Linked DNA regions of Homo sapiens: regions 1, 2, 4 and 5 are each linked to region 3. Evidence: promoter capture Hi-C in 16 types of primary human blood cells and fetal thymus (Javierre and others, 2016). All regions are on one chromosome and are shown on one strand. The core of a region is centred on a gene start or on the middle of the fragment in contact, and the rest is flanking DNA. Distances in the headings are between cores, read along the strand shown.

Region 1 (2,758 bases), core at 139-2,638, 210 kb after region 3:
TCCCTGAGGCCCCTGCTCGGCTGCCCCTGCACACACCTGTCTGTCCCGGACCACGAGCCCCTGCCACCATAGCCCAGCCTCCTGTGTCTGCACCTCCCGCGCCTCTCACCTGCGGGGCCAGCAGATGTGGCACCCGGAGGCGTGTACAGAGGCCAGTGTCATGCATGCCCATGAGTGCCCATGTCACCCCACTCCCAGGGCTGGAGCCTGCTGCCTTGGTTCTGACGACACAGTCCCCAGGCTTGCCTCTGGCTCCTCCATTCTGTGGAGGGCTCACCCACAGGCATGGTGCCCGCACTCCTTCCCTCGGGAGTAAACAGTCACTACTCTTCACGGGGCTTGCTGACAGTCAAACCAACCCTGCACTGGGAGCAGCTTCGGTCCTGGCCCGGTAAGCACCTGGACAGCTGTGCCCAGCAGCGCAACTACTTCTTTGGGCTGGAGGAGGCCTGGCAACACCGTTGGCACTGCGGTGATGCTGCTCCCAGGTGGGACTGGACCCAGTGCCTCCAGCCATCGCTCACACCCACCTGGTCTTGACTTTCCTCAAGGGTCTGGGTCAGCTCTGACCATGGCAGCTGCAGGCTCTGATGTTCCTGATTCAGGCATTCAAGTTCAACTCTAAGTTTTTGGATTTGGTCACTCTGTTTTTAAAAAATCAATTGCACAAGTCAAGAAGTATCTGAAGAGTCTGGTATGTAATTCGTGCAAAAACCTCAGAAAATTACAGAAAAGAAAAAAAGTACAAAATTTAAATCCCTGTGAACCCACCAACCAAGGCCGGCCCTGTGTCCTGCAGTCACTCCCCGGCCCCTCCTCTACACACACGCATCTCCCTGGTGAGACAGTGTCAGGTGCGCCACGCACTGCAGGAAGTGCCTTCTCCTCACTGCAGTGGGAGCGTTTCCTGGGGCATTAGTTATGATTTGAAAACATGGTTTTCAGTGGCTGTGCTGTGATCCAGTGACTCCCTCAGCTTCTGTTGGTGACTCGGCCGATTTCAGTTCTGCTTTGCTATTATAAACAGCACAGCAAGGAAAATGCTGCAGCTGCATCCTTCCACAAGGCTCTCGGGAACATCCCCATCGGAATCGTGAAGTCAAGGCATGTGGACTTTCTTCAGCCTCTAAGTGTGTATTTTGCCAAACTGCCCTCGGGGAACTTTGTACCAATTCACTCCTCTGTCAGCAGCATATAAAGCTATTCTGCTATTTTCTTTAGATACTGGGATTTGCCAACACAGCACAGTCCACCTACTTCTCCAAGGCATGCTTGGGAAGTCCCTCACTTCCCTCCAGGCTCCTCAGCGCGTGTCCTGACCTATTTGCAGCCGCCTCCCCACCCTGAGCTCCCAGCCTCCAGCTCAGCTCCCTGCGGCTGAGGCCACCCACCTGCTGCTGCCCACTGCGAACCACCTCCTCCAGGCTCTGTGTTAACATCTGAATGGTCACACGATGCTCCTCGTTTTGGGCCTGGTGGGTAGAAGCCTCCTGTCCCAGTTGAAGAACCCTGACATTGAGCTGGGATAATTGATCCTTGTAGTTCTGATTCTGGGGGAAAAAGTTTTTAAATACATAAGAAAAAAATGTTTTTAATTTTCATGTTATATATACATTTGCCCATCATTGGCTATATTTTTATTAAGTAGTCATTTGTTTTGTTTTGTTTTGTTTTGTTTTTCAAGACAGGCTCTCGCTCTGTTGCCCTGGCTGGAGTGCGGTGGCACATTCATGGTTCACTGCAGCCGTGACCTCCTAGGCTCAGGCGATCCTCCCACCTCAGCCTCCCAAGTAGCTGGGACCACAGGCACACGTCACCACTCCCACCTAGTTTTGTTTTTTGGTCGAGACAGGGTCTCTAGCTGTGTTGCCAAAGCTGGTCCCGAACTCCTAGCCTCAAGGGATCTTCCCATCTCAGCCTCCCAAAGTGCTGGGATTATAGGTGTGGGCCACTGAGCCCAGCCCCACCTTGCCCCCTAAAATACTTTTAAGCCAGCAGCTCAATTCATATCATTGTAATTGCTCTCAACCAGGTACAACTTTGCTCCTGAGGAAATGTCTGGCAATGTCTCCAGGTATTTTTGGTAATCACAGCTGGAGATGGAGGCATGGGGGCACTTGACACCCTACAACACAGATGATTTGGCCCCAAACGTCACCAGTGCCGAGGACAGAAAGCCCTGCTCCAGCCCCTAGGAAAAACACACACACATCTAGGCCACCAGAAGGGAGTATATGCCATGACCGTCCAAACCACTGTTTGGAAGACCTTTCACGTTTTTCTCATTTCCTCCACGATTATTTTAATATATTTAAAAATATATGGCAATTTTAACAAAAAAGCAACCTATTTAAACTTGAGGTACATGAATCTCTTAAGTCTCCTCTGATCTCAGTCATTGAACACACAAGCGTAGCTCTTGGCAGGGTACATAGGTTCATCAAATTGTATGTTTTGCTTTTTCTCAATAGCACCTCCCACAGACAAAGGATTTCAGCAAACGTTCATGAGGGGAACCTGTGAGGGCGCAGTGCAGTGACAGCGGCAGGAAAGTGGCCCTGCGGTCTGGACCACGGAGGCTCTGCTGTCTGCAGCCACCTGTCAGGAACATCTTCATGCAACCATATTTCTGCTTACTTGCTTTTTCCCACCGCAGCTCCTGGGGGTTTGGAGTGATGTCCTCTGACCCGCTCTCAGCACAATCGACCACGCACACGTCACCTTCCCAGAGTGACGCCCACAACCACTGCCTTTGCTT
Region 2 (2,700 bases), core at 7-2,506, 170 kb after region 3:
AATGACTTTTGACACTAACTACCTGCAGTTATTGTCAACTAAGGAAGCTCACACAAGCTTTGATGTCCAGAGTGTTTATTGGGGCTTCATTACATAGACATGACTGATTAAATTGCTGGCCCTGTGATTGAGTTCAATCTTCATCCCTCTTCCCCTCCCTGGAGGTCAGACTGACATCAGGAGGGCCAAAGGCCCAATACTTTAATCACATGGTTGGTCTTTCTGGGGTAGCCAGTCCCAACTCTGAGTCATCTTGTTAGCACAGACTATGTAGGGGTTCACCACGAGTCACCTGAGTAGCACATACTCTCAGGGCACATCATAAATAACAAGACACTCCTATTACTTGAGAAAGTACAAGAATTTAGAAGCTACCTCCCAGGAATGAGGGAGAGAGGCCCACCAAATTCTTTATTCTACAACAGTGTTATTACAAGGCCTATCACAGGGTTACTTCAGGTGGTCCATGTGGAGCACAGCATAGGATGGCACTCAATAAATGTTAACAGTTACTACATTACAGTTGCATAGCACAGAGCTTAAGAAAGAAAATATTCAGTGCAGCAAACCACCATGGCACATGTATACCTATGTAACAAACCTGCACGTTCAGCACATGTATCCCAGAACTTAAAGAAAAAAAAAAAACAAATATTCAATGTGTTTGCCATTAGATTCTGCACATTTTTGAAAGTGATCTATTTGTTGTCATAGCTTCATTTTCATTCTGTTCATTTTCTGCATAAATAAATGAGTAATCTCTACCTCAGATTTACCAGTGACTACGAAATTGGTAACATGTTAGTACCTCACTTTATGCTCTTTGTGTTCAAATCTACTTATATTAATTGAACTTTGGGGTACTTACTGTGTATTATGGTGAGATGAACAGAACATTATGTTTCTCTAACGACAGTAGCTTTAATGATTTTTCTCATACAATATTTTAGATTAATTTTTTTGTGTATTTTTTGAGATGGAATCTCGCTCTGTTGCCCAGGCTGGAGTACAGTGGTGCATTCTCTGCTCACTGCAACTTCCGCCTCCTGGCTTCAAGCAATTCTCCTGCCTCAGCCTGCCAAGTAGCTGTGATTACAGGTGCGTGCCTCCATGCCTGGCTAATTTTTGTATTTTAGTAGAGACAGGGTTTCACTATGTTGGCTAGGCTGGTCTCGAACTCCTGACCTTGTGATCTGCCCCTCTTGGCCTCCCAAAGTGCTGGGATTCCAGGTGTGAGCCACAGCGCCTGGCGATTAATATGTTTCTTACAATTTAGTAAATGATTACAAGCTGCATTTATTCAAGCACATCAATTAGATTTCATATTGGGCATTGTTTCTGTAAGGGTGGCACTTTTCTGTGATTACTGAGTTCCCAAAGTCAGTTTCTATTTTAATGAAATATAACAATGTTAACAGCAAATAAAATATATATATATTTTTTTGAGATGGAGTCTCGCTCTGTTGCTCCAGCTGGAGTGCAGTGGCACGATCTTGGCTCACTGAAACCTCTGCCTCCCGGGTTCAAGCGATTCTCCTGCCTCAGCATCCCGAGTAACTGGGATTACAGGTGCCCACCACTACACCCAGCTAATTTTTGTATTTTTAGTAGAGACGGGGTTTCACTGTATTGGCCAGGCTGGTCCTGAGCTCCTGACCTGATGATCTGCCCACCTCAGCCTCCCAAAGTGCTGGGATTACAAGTGTGAGCCACAGTGCCTGGCCTTATATAAAATAATATTAATGGGTCTAGAGATTAAGTTGTTTGAGAATAGTGAAACCTGAGATAGTTTCTTGGAAGAGTTTGTGAATTACTGCAAAACTGGCAAATGACTTCCTTCTACCCCAGTGACCTCATCTATAAAAAGGAATATACCAGCCTGGCCAACATGGTGAAACCCTGTTTCTACTAAAAATACAAAGATTAGCTGGGTGTGGTGGTGTGCACCTGTAATCCCAGCTGGTCAGGGAGGCTGAGGGCAGGACAATTGCTTGAGCCTGGGAGGTGGAGGTTGCGATGAGCTGAGATCGCACCACTGCACTCTGGTCTGGGAGAGAGAGTGAGACCCTGTCTCAAAAAAAAAAAAAAAGAAAAAAAGAAAAAGAATAAAAGGAATATACATGGTCTCGTTCTCTTAGTAGTGATGTTTTGGAAACACTGAAGGATGAGAAGAGATTAATACAGATAAACTCTGTAGTAGACCACAGACATCTCTGCTTGAGCAATTGCATCGTGGCAACTGCATCAGCCATTTTGGACCAGTAACAAAGAATATTTCCAGGTATCCCTGACAGCTTATAGGAGCCTATGAGGTCTGAATGTCATCATAGGTATCTGTATTACCCAAGGATAGTGCTTCAATGGGTGACTGAAGCACATGGGCTTGAGTCTGCCACCTAAATTCAGATCCCTGCCTTGTTAACTCTGAGCCCTTTGGTAAATTATCTAATCTCTCAAAGCTTCAGTCCTTCATGAATAAAAAGAAAATAATAATAGTAGTTACATCATGGGGCAATGAAAAAGAGAAAATAATGCATATTAAAATTTTAGCAAATTCCTGGTATATAGTAAGCACTTTATTACTGGGAGTGATGATTTCAATATTGTTGACTCAGGCTAGCAATAAAAGTAAAAGCAGAGCTAAAATAAGGTTACTAACATGAAACAGATGATCATGTGTTAATGTTTAGAGAAAACACC
Region 3 (2,700 bases), core at 78-2,577:
GCAGCCAAGCTCGACCCCACAGCCCTGCCATCTGTGCCCGAAGTTCGATCTTGTTGGCTCCAGAATCCCTAGGACATAGTGCAGGAGTGAATCCCGAGCTGGAGCTGGGTGGGCTGTGGGGTCATTCCAGATTGATTAACCTCCGACCTCTGAAGTCTGCAGCTGGAAGGGGCTCCAGGTAAGAAGATAACTTTGAAGCATCACACCAGGAAACCTACTGCACCTGGACTTTCATGACATTTCCTGCGGGCAATTTTTACCTCCACGAAATTCAGTAACCTTTGCAGCCCCTTCAGCCCAAGACCACCAGGAGCAAACCTGTGGTCCACAAAATCGGGTGTACTGACCCACTGCAATGAGGGAGCGCCTCCCAAGAACGAAGGGAAAGGCAGAGTTTGAAGGGGTTGAGGGAAGGCAGAGTTTAGGTGACCTTTACATGAAGCAGGGTTCCCACAGGCTGAGGCCAGCAGGACTGTGTTCCGCGGGGCCAAGTGTGGGAAGCTGTGTGCAGACGCCCCCTATCTGGAGCTGCAGCCTGGATTGGGATGACAGAGGCTAAGTCTCGGTTAGTGGCTGAGCTCCCCGGCCAGACGGGCATGTTTCCTTCTCCCTGCTGTAATCTCAAAGCGGACAGCGTCTGCCAGGTGGTTTCGGGAACAGGGTTTCTCCGAGGGCTAGGGGGCTGCGGTCCCTCCGAGGCGGGGTCGTGGTGGCATTTGGCTGTGGCTGCCTCGCGCCCTCGGGAACGGGCGTCTCCAGCTCGCTGGCAGCTGGTTTTCTCCACGTCTGTCATCGGCCTGGAGTGGCAAGCAAATAGCTGGTATTTTCAGAGCCGCCCTGCCCCGGACAGAGAAGACCGGGCCCAGCAGGCGTTGGTGGATGCCTTTCAAGCTGTAATCAGTTTCCCCGAACGTGTACCAGGTCTCGGCCACAGCCCGAGCCCAGCGCGCTCCCGCGGGGCACCTGGTGACCCGGTGCAGGGCGGGAGGGCCGGTCCCAGGAACCCGAGGGCCGGAGGGCAGGGCCCCCTTCCCGCACCGTCCCCGGGCTGGCAGGAGCGGCCACGACGGCACGCTCCGAGGCCCCGGGTCCCTTGCCCCCTCCAGTCGCTCCCACTTTCTGCCGGGCTTGCCCAACGAGGGGGCAAACACCACGCTCAGGTGGCGTGGACAGGTCGCTGCCGCCTCGGACTACACCAGAGATCTCAGCTATGAGCCTGGACGCCCGCCCCGCCCTCCCGAGGCCCCGCCCCGCCCCCCGAGGCCCCGCCCCGGCGCGGCGCGCAGGCGCGGTCCATCCCGCCCGCAGAGCCGCAGTGCCGGGCGCCAGAGCAGCGGCGCCAGAGCAGCTGCACCATCCCGGCGTTCGCGTGTGCCGCCGCTTTCCTCCTCCATCTCTTTTCCTCCGCCTCCGCCGGCGCGATGGCGAAGCCGCTGACGGACAGCGAGAAGCGGAAGCAGATCAGCGTGCGCGGCCTGGCGGGGCTAGGCGACGTGGCCGAGGTGCGGAAGAGCTTCAACCGGCACTTGCACTTCACGCTGGTCAAGGACCGCAATGTGGCCACGCCCCGCGACTACTTCTTCGCGCTGGCGCACACGGTGCGCGACCACCTCGTGGGCCGCTGGATCCGCACGCAGCAGCACTACTACGAGCGCGACCCCAAGGTGAGGCGCTGCCCCGCCCTGTGCGCCCGTGCCCGCTGAGAGGGCGCCGGTCCCGGAGCCGCGCCAGCGGGGGTCTCTGCGGGGCGGCCCGTCGGGCGTTACCTGCGCCCCTAGCCGGCCGGCGGCCAGGCACAGCCGACTGGGGAGTCGCCTGGAAGCCGCAGTCGGCGGGGCCCGGGCGTCCCCTGCGCAGGGCCGCGGCCACGGGTCCGCCCCACTGGGAGCCCGCGCCTGGCGGGGTCCGCCGTCCCCCGCAGATGATGCTGAGCCCGGGAGCCTGGCGGACGTTCCCGGTCTCTTTCTGGCCGTGCGCTTCCGCGCTGGCTGCAGAGCCGGTGCTCCCCGCCCCTGCCTCCAGCCACTCTTTGTTTTCCTGCAGCAGCCTGTGGGAGAAAATGGGACTGGAACCAGGCCTGGGCAGCCTTGTGGGTTGGAATGGGGTGAGCTCGGTAATCTGCAGGGAATTGTGAGACTTTTTTTTGTGTACGCTGCTTAGAAGAAAATCACTGAAGATGCCTGCTTCACGCAGGGAGGGGTACGAAGCTCAGAGATGGAGATGGAGCCCTCGAAGAAGGCTCTGTCTTAGAGGTTCCCACACCTCCCTTGGAGAAATTTGCTTGGGTTGAAGTTGACAGAGATCATCTTACTAATTGTTACTTTTTATATCTTGCAAAAATTTGTTTGAGTAGTGAAACAAAGTCACTGATTGTCCCCGTTACTCTTAACCATGTTTACTATGGGCCTGTGTTCTTGCTGTGTTTTTGGTATTCCTAAATATACATACACATTTTTAAAAAGTATAATGCACATACAGTTTTTTAGATTTTCTGTTTCATTCGTAAACATTTGTAACTTTTTCACTGATAAACAGCTTTGCAGGTCAATGGATAGGATGGTAGTTTTCAGTTTGATAGGTACATGGTAGTCTTGCACAGCCCCCTGTTGCCAGTTTTTTGTTGTTGTCGTTTGCTTTTAAACTCTTGACCATGGAGAATTGTCTTTCTACTACACTAACGTAGAGGGAGAACTGGTGAGG
Region 4 (2,829 bases), core at 306-2,805, 130 kb after region 3:
TTTAGTAGAGACAGGACACAGGGTTTCTCCATGTTGGTCAGGCTGGTCTCAAACTCCTTACCTCAGGTGATCCTCCCGCCTCGGCCTCCCAAAGTGCTGGGATTACAGGTGTGAGCCACCACGCCCAGCCTACAGTGTTTTAATGTGCTTCTCTTCAACACTAACGTGCGTGTCAGTACTCAGTCGGTTTTCATTGATTATTCTCTTCATTATATACACATCATAGTTTCCTCCCACTCTGCATGCCTGTGCTATGGGCTGAATAATGTCCCCTCAAAATTTGTATGTTGAAGTCTTAACCCCTAGCACTTCAGAATATGACTGTATTTAGAGAGAGGGTCTTAAGGAGGTAATTATGCTAAAATGAGGTCATCAGGGTGGACCCTAATCCACTATGACTCAGCTTTGTAAGAAGAAATGCAGAAAGAGCCACACACAGAGGTTAGACCATATGAAGACACATGGAGAAGGTGGTCATCTACAGGCAAAGCAGAGGGGCCTCATGAGAAACCAGCCCTGCTGACACCTCCATCTTGGACTTCTGGCCTCTGGAATCGAGAGAAAATAAACTTCTGCCATTTAAGTCACCTGGTCTGTGTTACTTTGTTATGGTAGCCCTCACAAACCCATACACCTGGAATTTCCCACTACTGAAGCATGCTGTTCCTGAATGTTCTACCAGTAAATTATAATCTTGCTCTAAGTAGCAGGGACTGTATCTTCTGATCTTTTCAGACAGTTCTTTCCCCAGCCACAGAGAGTTTCCTCACACACGTGTGCTGATCAAGGGGACCCTCTGCAGACCCCAGGGTCTCTCTCTGTGTTGCTCTCTCCTCTCTGGTACTCTGTCCTATAAACTCTAGCCACATTGGTCTCTCCAGATTCTCAGCTCCACACCCACAACCCTGGGAGTCCACGTGGCTCCCCTCCCTGTGCCATGGCGTGGAAGCTCTCTCAAGGAGATCAGCTAGGGTACTGTAGGGCTCACTTCCTTTGTCTGTCACTTCTCCGAGTTTACTGTCCTTTGTTGCTTGGTGCCCAGTGTTTTAAAAATTGTTTCGTGTATGTTGTCGTTTTTGTTGTGGCTGCTATTTGGGTTATTTCCGGGTAAATTCAGCCACCTTGGTCAGTAGTGGAAGTTCTATGTTTCTTTTAAAATATGTCTATAATTAGCTGGGTGCAGTGGCTCACACCTGTAATCCCAGCACTTTGGGAGGCCAAGGCAGGTGGATCACGAGGTCAGGAGATCGAGACCATCCTGGCTAACACGGTGAAACCCCGTCTCTACTAAAAATACAAAAATATTAGCTGGGCGTGGTGGTGGGCGCCTGTAGTCCCAGCCACTTGGGAGGCTGAGGCAGGAGAATGGCATGAGCTGGGAGGCGGAGATTGTAGTGAGCCCAGATCGCACCACTGCACTCCAGCCTGGGCGACAGAGTGAGACTCTGTCTCAAAAAATAATAATAATAATAATAATGTCTACAATTAGTTTTCATCAACTCCTTCATTAATGTAACCATCAAAATTGTTGAGGAAAAGTGTTTTATCATTTAATTCCATGGTATTCTCTTAGAAGGAACAAGAGAGTAACGCCAAATCTCATTCCCCAAGACTAACAGATTAAATTCTTCTTAGCTTTTAGGCGGAAATCTTAACAACAATCTCCATAATCATATTCAAAAGCAGTCAGTGTTGAGAGCAATTTCACTCTACTGAATTGAAAACTTTAAGGCCTTAATAAAACACACAAGAGCAGTCCATAAATGTCTCTTTGTTCCCAAAGAAGAAAACAAAAAATCATGAGGATTCAGTCGGCAGAACTGAACAACTGGGTATCCTACTGTGAGAAGGCCTTATTTTCCTGGCAGAAACAAAAATATTTCACCACTGTGGTACGGCATGTTTTCAGGTGCTTTACACACAGCCACATAACCTTACCTTGCTTTATTTTTCTTTATAGCACTTTATCACCCTTTGAAATTTTACTGTATACTTATGTGCTATCTTTGTTGCCGTGTTTCTCCTTCATGAGAACAGAAGTCCCACAAGGACTGGGATTTGTCCCACTCTTGTGCAGCATTTTATCCACTCTAGCCTTCAGTGAAGGCTAGGTCAACGAAAAAGACATACTTGCTAAATGGATGGAAGAACACAGGAGCAATACTCTCAACACAGGCCACACTGTTCACAGCAATTATCCAGAGGGAGTTTCACTTTCTCTGTTTTAAATTTTTATTAAGAACTCTTTATTACTTTGGAATCAGAAAAAAAAATCAAACTGTTTGAGAGAGGAACAGAGTGAGAGAGAGAGGGCCCCTCAGAGGCCGCCCTTCACCACAGCTATGACATCTCCCAGGCGACCTCATACCTGGAGATGCTTCCCTGGGCCCTGGCAGAATCTCCTTCAGCTTTTTCCTGAGGCTCTGGGGCTGCACTGGCAGCCTCCCAGCTGGCCTGTACTGGCCTAACAGTCCCTTCCTCCTGGAACCCTAAGCCAGATATTGAATGTCCTAGAATGGCAGTCTTTTTTGCTTGCCTTCTTGTAGGTTATGCCATGATGTGCCTTGTCAAGGTGTCCTGTGTCCCCAAACTGAGAATTTTTCTCATGTCTTTAGATGGCTCTATTGGCCAGCAATGCATTTTGCATTACATCCTGTCAAGCAAGAGGCTAAGAGACCTATTCTTAGTCAGTTTTTTGTTTCTATAATTAAATAACTGAGGTCAGTAATTTATAAAGAAGGAAATTTATTTCTTAGCATTCTGGAGGCTGGGAAGTCCAAGGTCAAGGGGCCATATCTGGTGAGGACCTTCTTGCTGGTGGGGACTCCG
Region 5 (2,700 bases), core at 38-2,537, 240 kb before region 3:
TGCTGGGCAGCACGGGCCAGCCCACATTATAGCATAAATACTAGCTTTCGTTTTTCAGTACCCTGGCATGTTCCAGGAAGAGTTCACACTGTGAAGAGGGATCTAATTTGATTGTTGTCCATATAAGGAGTTGCTCATCCCGGTGCCATCCCTGATAGCCTGCCCGTCCCCACTGGCCTGTGAGGTGCTCTGTCTCTCCCTCGAAGCTTCTATATATGTGTGGCTCTCCTACTGCTCATCTGCCCCAGCCCCATGCCACCTTCACCCATTCTTCCCTGGCATGTAGCACCTAACTGACTGTGTCGTTTCCTTGGTGATCATCTTTCTTGCTCTTTGTCTGTCTCTCTCCTCTACTCTTGACCCCTCTATGGGGTCAGAGACCTTCTCACTCACTGCTGTGTCCCCAGCATCTAGAACCATGCCTGGAACACAGGAGGTGCTCAACACATGGTTGTTAAGTGCATGAATGGATGATTGGTTTTCTGAACAAGCTATGATCTGTAAAGACCTACAGCCTTTGCCTGAAAGGCCTTCCTATATCCATGTGGCGAACTCCTATTCATCCCTCAAGACTCAGTTCAGCCACCTCCTGCTCTGTGAAGCCTTTCCTGACTCCACCCATGAATCTAGTTTATGGCACATGCTATGTGGGAACAGCTGTCAGTCCCCCTGCTGCCACCCCACTAGGCTGTTAGATCTTTGAGGGAAAGAACACCGTTTTTCTCATCTTGGTCGTTGATATGGGATCAGAAGTGGGCCTGGACTGTTGAGTTCTGAGGATGGAGCTGGAGGGAGGAAACCTTCCACATGGGTGGAGGAGCCAGTTAAGAGCCAGGACGAGGCAGGCAAGGCTCAGGACACTGGAGACAAGAGAGACAAGAGCCTGGCCAGCAGCACCAGAGGCTTGCTGGGTCTAGGTCCTAGACAAGGTCCAGGGGCTGCCCTTTTTCAGAGCTGCTGCAAAACAGAGAGAGTGGGGACAAATATACGATATTCACAGGCAGCTTTAGAGCCAACCAAGAGCTGTTCATCAGCTCTTCATAATTATAGAATGGATACTCAAATTCATTAGAAATCAGGAAAATGCACATCATCATACACATGATAGACAAATTATCCCCACACATCTGGCAGACATTAAGAAGCCTGGCAACACCAGACTTGCAATAGCTCCACACACGCAGAACGTGCCCTGGGCAGCAGCGTCCACAGCAGACCATGCCCCAACACCACCCCAACAGACCTAAGGCTAGGCCACCCTATGAAAGACAGTGATTGTGATGCCCAAACGTTTGTCTAAAGGTCACTTCCATTGTCCTTTCCTTGATCTTGCACTTGCTTTATGGAGTTCAATCCAGGGGCTGCTGAATCCCCAGACACAGTGGACCATGCCCGGACCCCTCTCAGTGGCCCCAGGGAGTACTGGCTCAGCCACTGGACTCAGACATAGATGGGGCTTTCAAATCCCAGGACACGTCAGTGCCCTGTGGACCCCCAGCCCAGAGATGTGAAATGCAGGAGTCCTCAGAGGAGGGGCCCAGGCTCCTGCCAGAGCGAGGTAACCTCAGGGGGGCACTAAGTTACCCTAGTCACACCTGAGAAACTGTCCTCGTCTCCGTCCTCTCTGACCCTCCTGATCACATCTGGACATGTCACCGGGCAGGGGTCCCTACCAGCTCTCTCCCACATCCCAGCCTTACCAGCATAGCCTTTCCATGGCAACTGAAAATGCTGTTTGTAAAGCACTGAAACAAATTCTCAATCTTGCAATGCGTCAATTTAAAGAGAGCATTTAAGTAAATAATGGAATAACGGCACATAGAAGTGCAGGGAGGAAGGTGACATCTGGGACACACTGTGACACAGGGTGGCCTCCCAGCGGGAGGGCAAGCCTGACCCCAAGCCACTGGGCAGGGCAGGAGAAGCCAGTCTGCCCAGCAGTGCCCTGGCATGGGGTCAGTGTGTGTCCAGGTCACGCCAGGCCAGGCAGTGTGCCTGGATGGACCTGGCATTGCAACACCTAGGTGCTCCCGCCCCTTCCCAGACCCAGCCACCAAGAAGCTGGCAGACTCGAAACAAAGCGTGGCCTTGGTAAAGGCCATTCTAGTCCCTCATTCTGCATTCCCCCAGCATGTCGCTGTGCAGTGGGAACCACAGGTCAGATTCGTCCAAAGAGTCCCAGCGCAGCACACAGCCTGCACACTCCAGAGCACACTCTGGCACACACGCGTGGCGGCTGCAGAGCTGGCTTGAGTGCTATGACCAAGCCCGTGAGGATACATGAGGCTGGACATTTTCTCATAAACTCTCTGTAATGGGGCTGGACGGTGTCCCCACCAGATACACCATGGACAGAAGGGGAAACCCCCCAAGCTTAGCCAAGCCCAACTGGGTCATGGCCACTGTGGATGTGTGTCCTGAAAGGACAGCAGAACCAGGGCATTTCAGAAACCCGACCGAACACGAGTGCTATTCAGCCTCCTCCCCTACAGTTTCCACTTGAGAGAGAAGAACACTGAGAGCTTGGCCCACAGTATCCCCTATCACTCCACTCTCCAGAGTCTGCTCCTCGTACAGAGGTGCCCATAATGGGTGTGGGGTCAGGAATCAGGGAGGAGCTCATCTCCAGGACACTCACCTTCTCCTTTGATGTCGTGGGGGTAGCCAATGACAGCACTTTCTGGTACTGCAGGGTGGTCG

The links. The method cuts DNA at HindIII sites, captures the fragments that hold promoters and counts their contacts. A CHiCAGO score of 5 or more calls a contact.
Region 1: a fragment that was not itself captured here is called in contact with the fragment with the promoter of PYGB in region 3 in 3 of 17 cell types (M2 macrophages, M0 macrophages and M1 macrophages); the score reaches 11.1 in M2 macrophages.
Region 2: a fragment that was not itself captured here is called in contact with the fragment with the promoter of PYGB in region 3 in 2 of 17 cell types (M2 macrophages and monocytes); the score reaches 5.8 in M2 macrophages.
Region 4: a fragment that was not itself captured here is called in contact with the fragment with the promoter of PYGB in region 3 in 1 of 17 cell types (monocytes); the score reaches 5.7 in monocytes.
Region 5: a fragment that was not itself captured here is called in contact with the fragment with the promoter of PYGB in region 3 in 2 of 17 cell types (megakaryocytes and M1 macrophages); the score reaches 5.5 in megakaryocytes.

What each region holds. Positions count from the first base shown.
Region 1 is chr20:25,460,992-25,463,749 of GRCh38, forward strand. NINL (ninein like) reads right to left here. Exons shown (of 24, transcript NM_025176.6): 20 at 1,392-1,550; 21 at 531-644. Among named protein-coding and RNA genes, the nearest start is that of GINS1, 55 kb to the left of the region's middle. The HindIII fragment of the contact is 3,043 bases long and covers 1-2,758 here.
Region 2 is chr20:25,418,708-25,421,407 of GRCh38, forward strand. The region is part of intron 4 of GINS1 (GINS complex subunit 1); the gene reads left to right. Among named protein-coding and RNA genes, the nearest start is that of GINS1, 12 kb to the left of the region's middle. The HindIII fragment of the contact is 2,402 bases long and covers 56-2,457 here.
Region 3 is chr20:25,246,758-25,249,457 of GRCh38, forward strand. It overlaps PYGB (glycogen phosphorylase B), which reads left to right and starts at 1,328. Exons shown (of 20, transcript NM_002862.4): 1 at 1,328-1,664. The coding sequence starts at 1,422. RefSeq lists silencers at 360-613, 632-711, 892-1,081, 1,092-1,281, 1,592-1,971 and an enhancer at 1,362-1,441. The HindIII fragment of the contact is 3,937 bases long and covers 1-2,700 here.
Region 4 is chr20:25,374,670-25,377,498 of GRCh38, forward strand. All of the region lies in intron 1 of ABHD12 (abhydrolase domain containing 12, lysophospholipase), which reads right to left. Among named protein-coding and RNA genes, the nearest start is that of ABHD12, 15 kb to the right of the region's middle. The HindIII fragment of the contact is 4,842 bases long and covers 1-2,829 here.
Region 5 is chr20:25,009,963-25,012,662 of GRCh38, forward strand. It overlaps ACSS1 (acyl-CoA synthetase short chain family member 1), which reads right to left. Exons shown (of 14, transcript NM_032501.4): 12 at 2,639-2,700. Among named protein-coding and RNA genes, the nearest start is that of APMAP, 19 kb to the left of the region's middle. The HindIII fragment of the contact is 2,167 bases long and covers 205-2,371 here.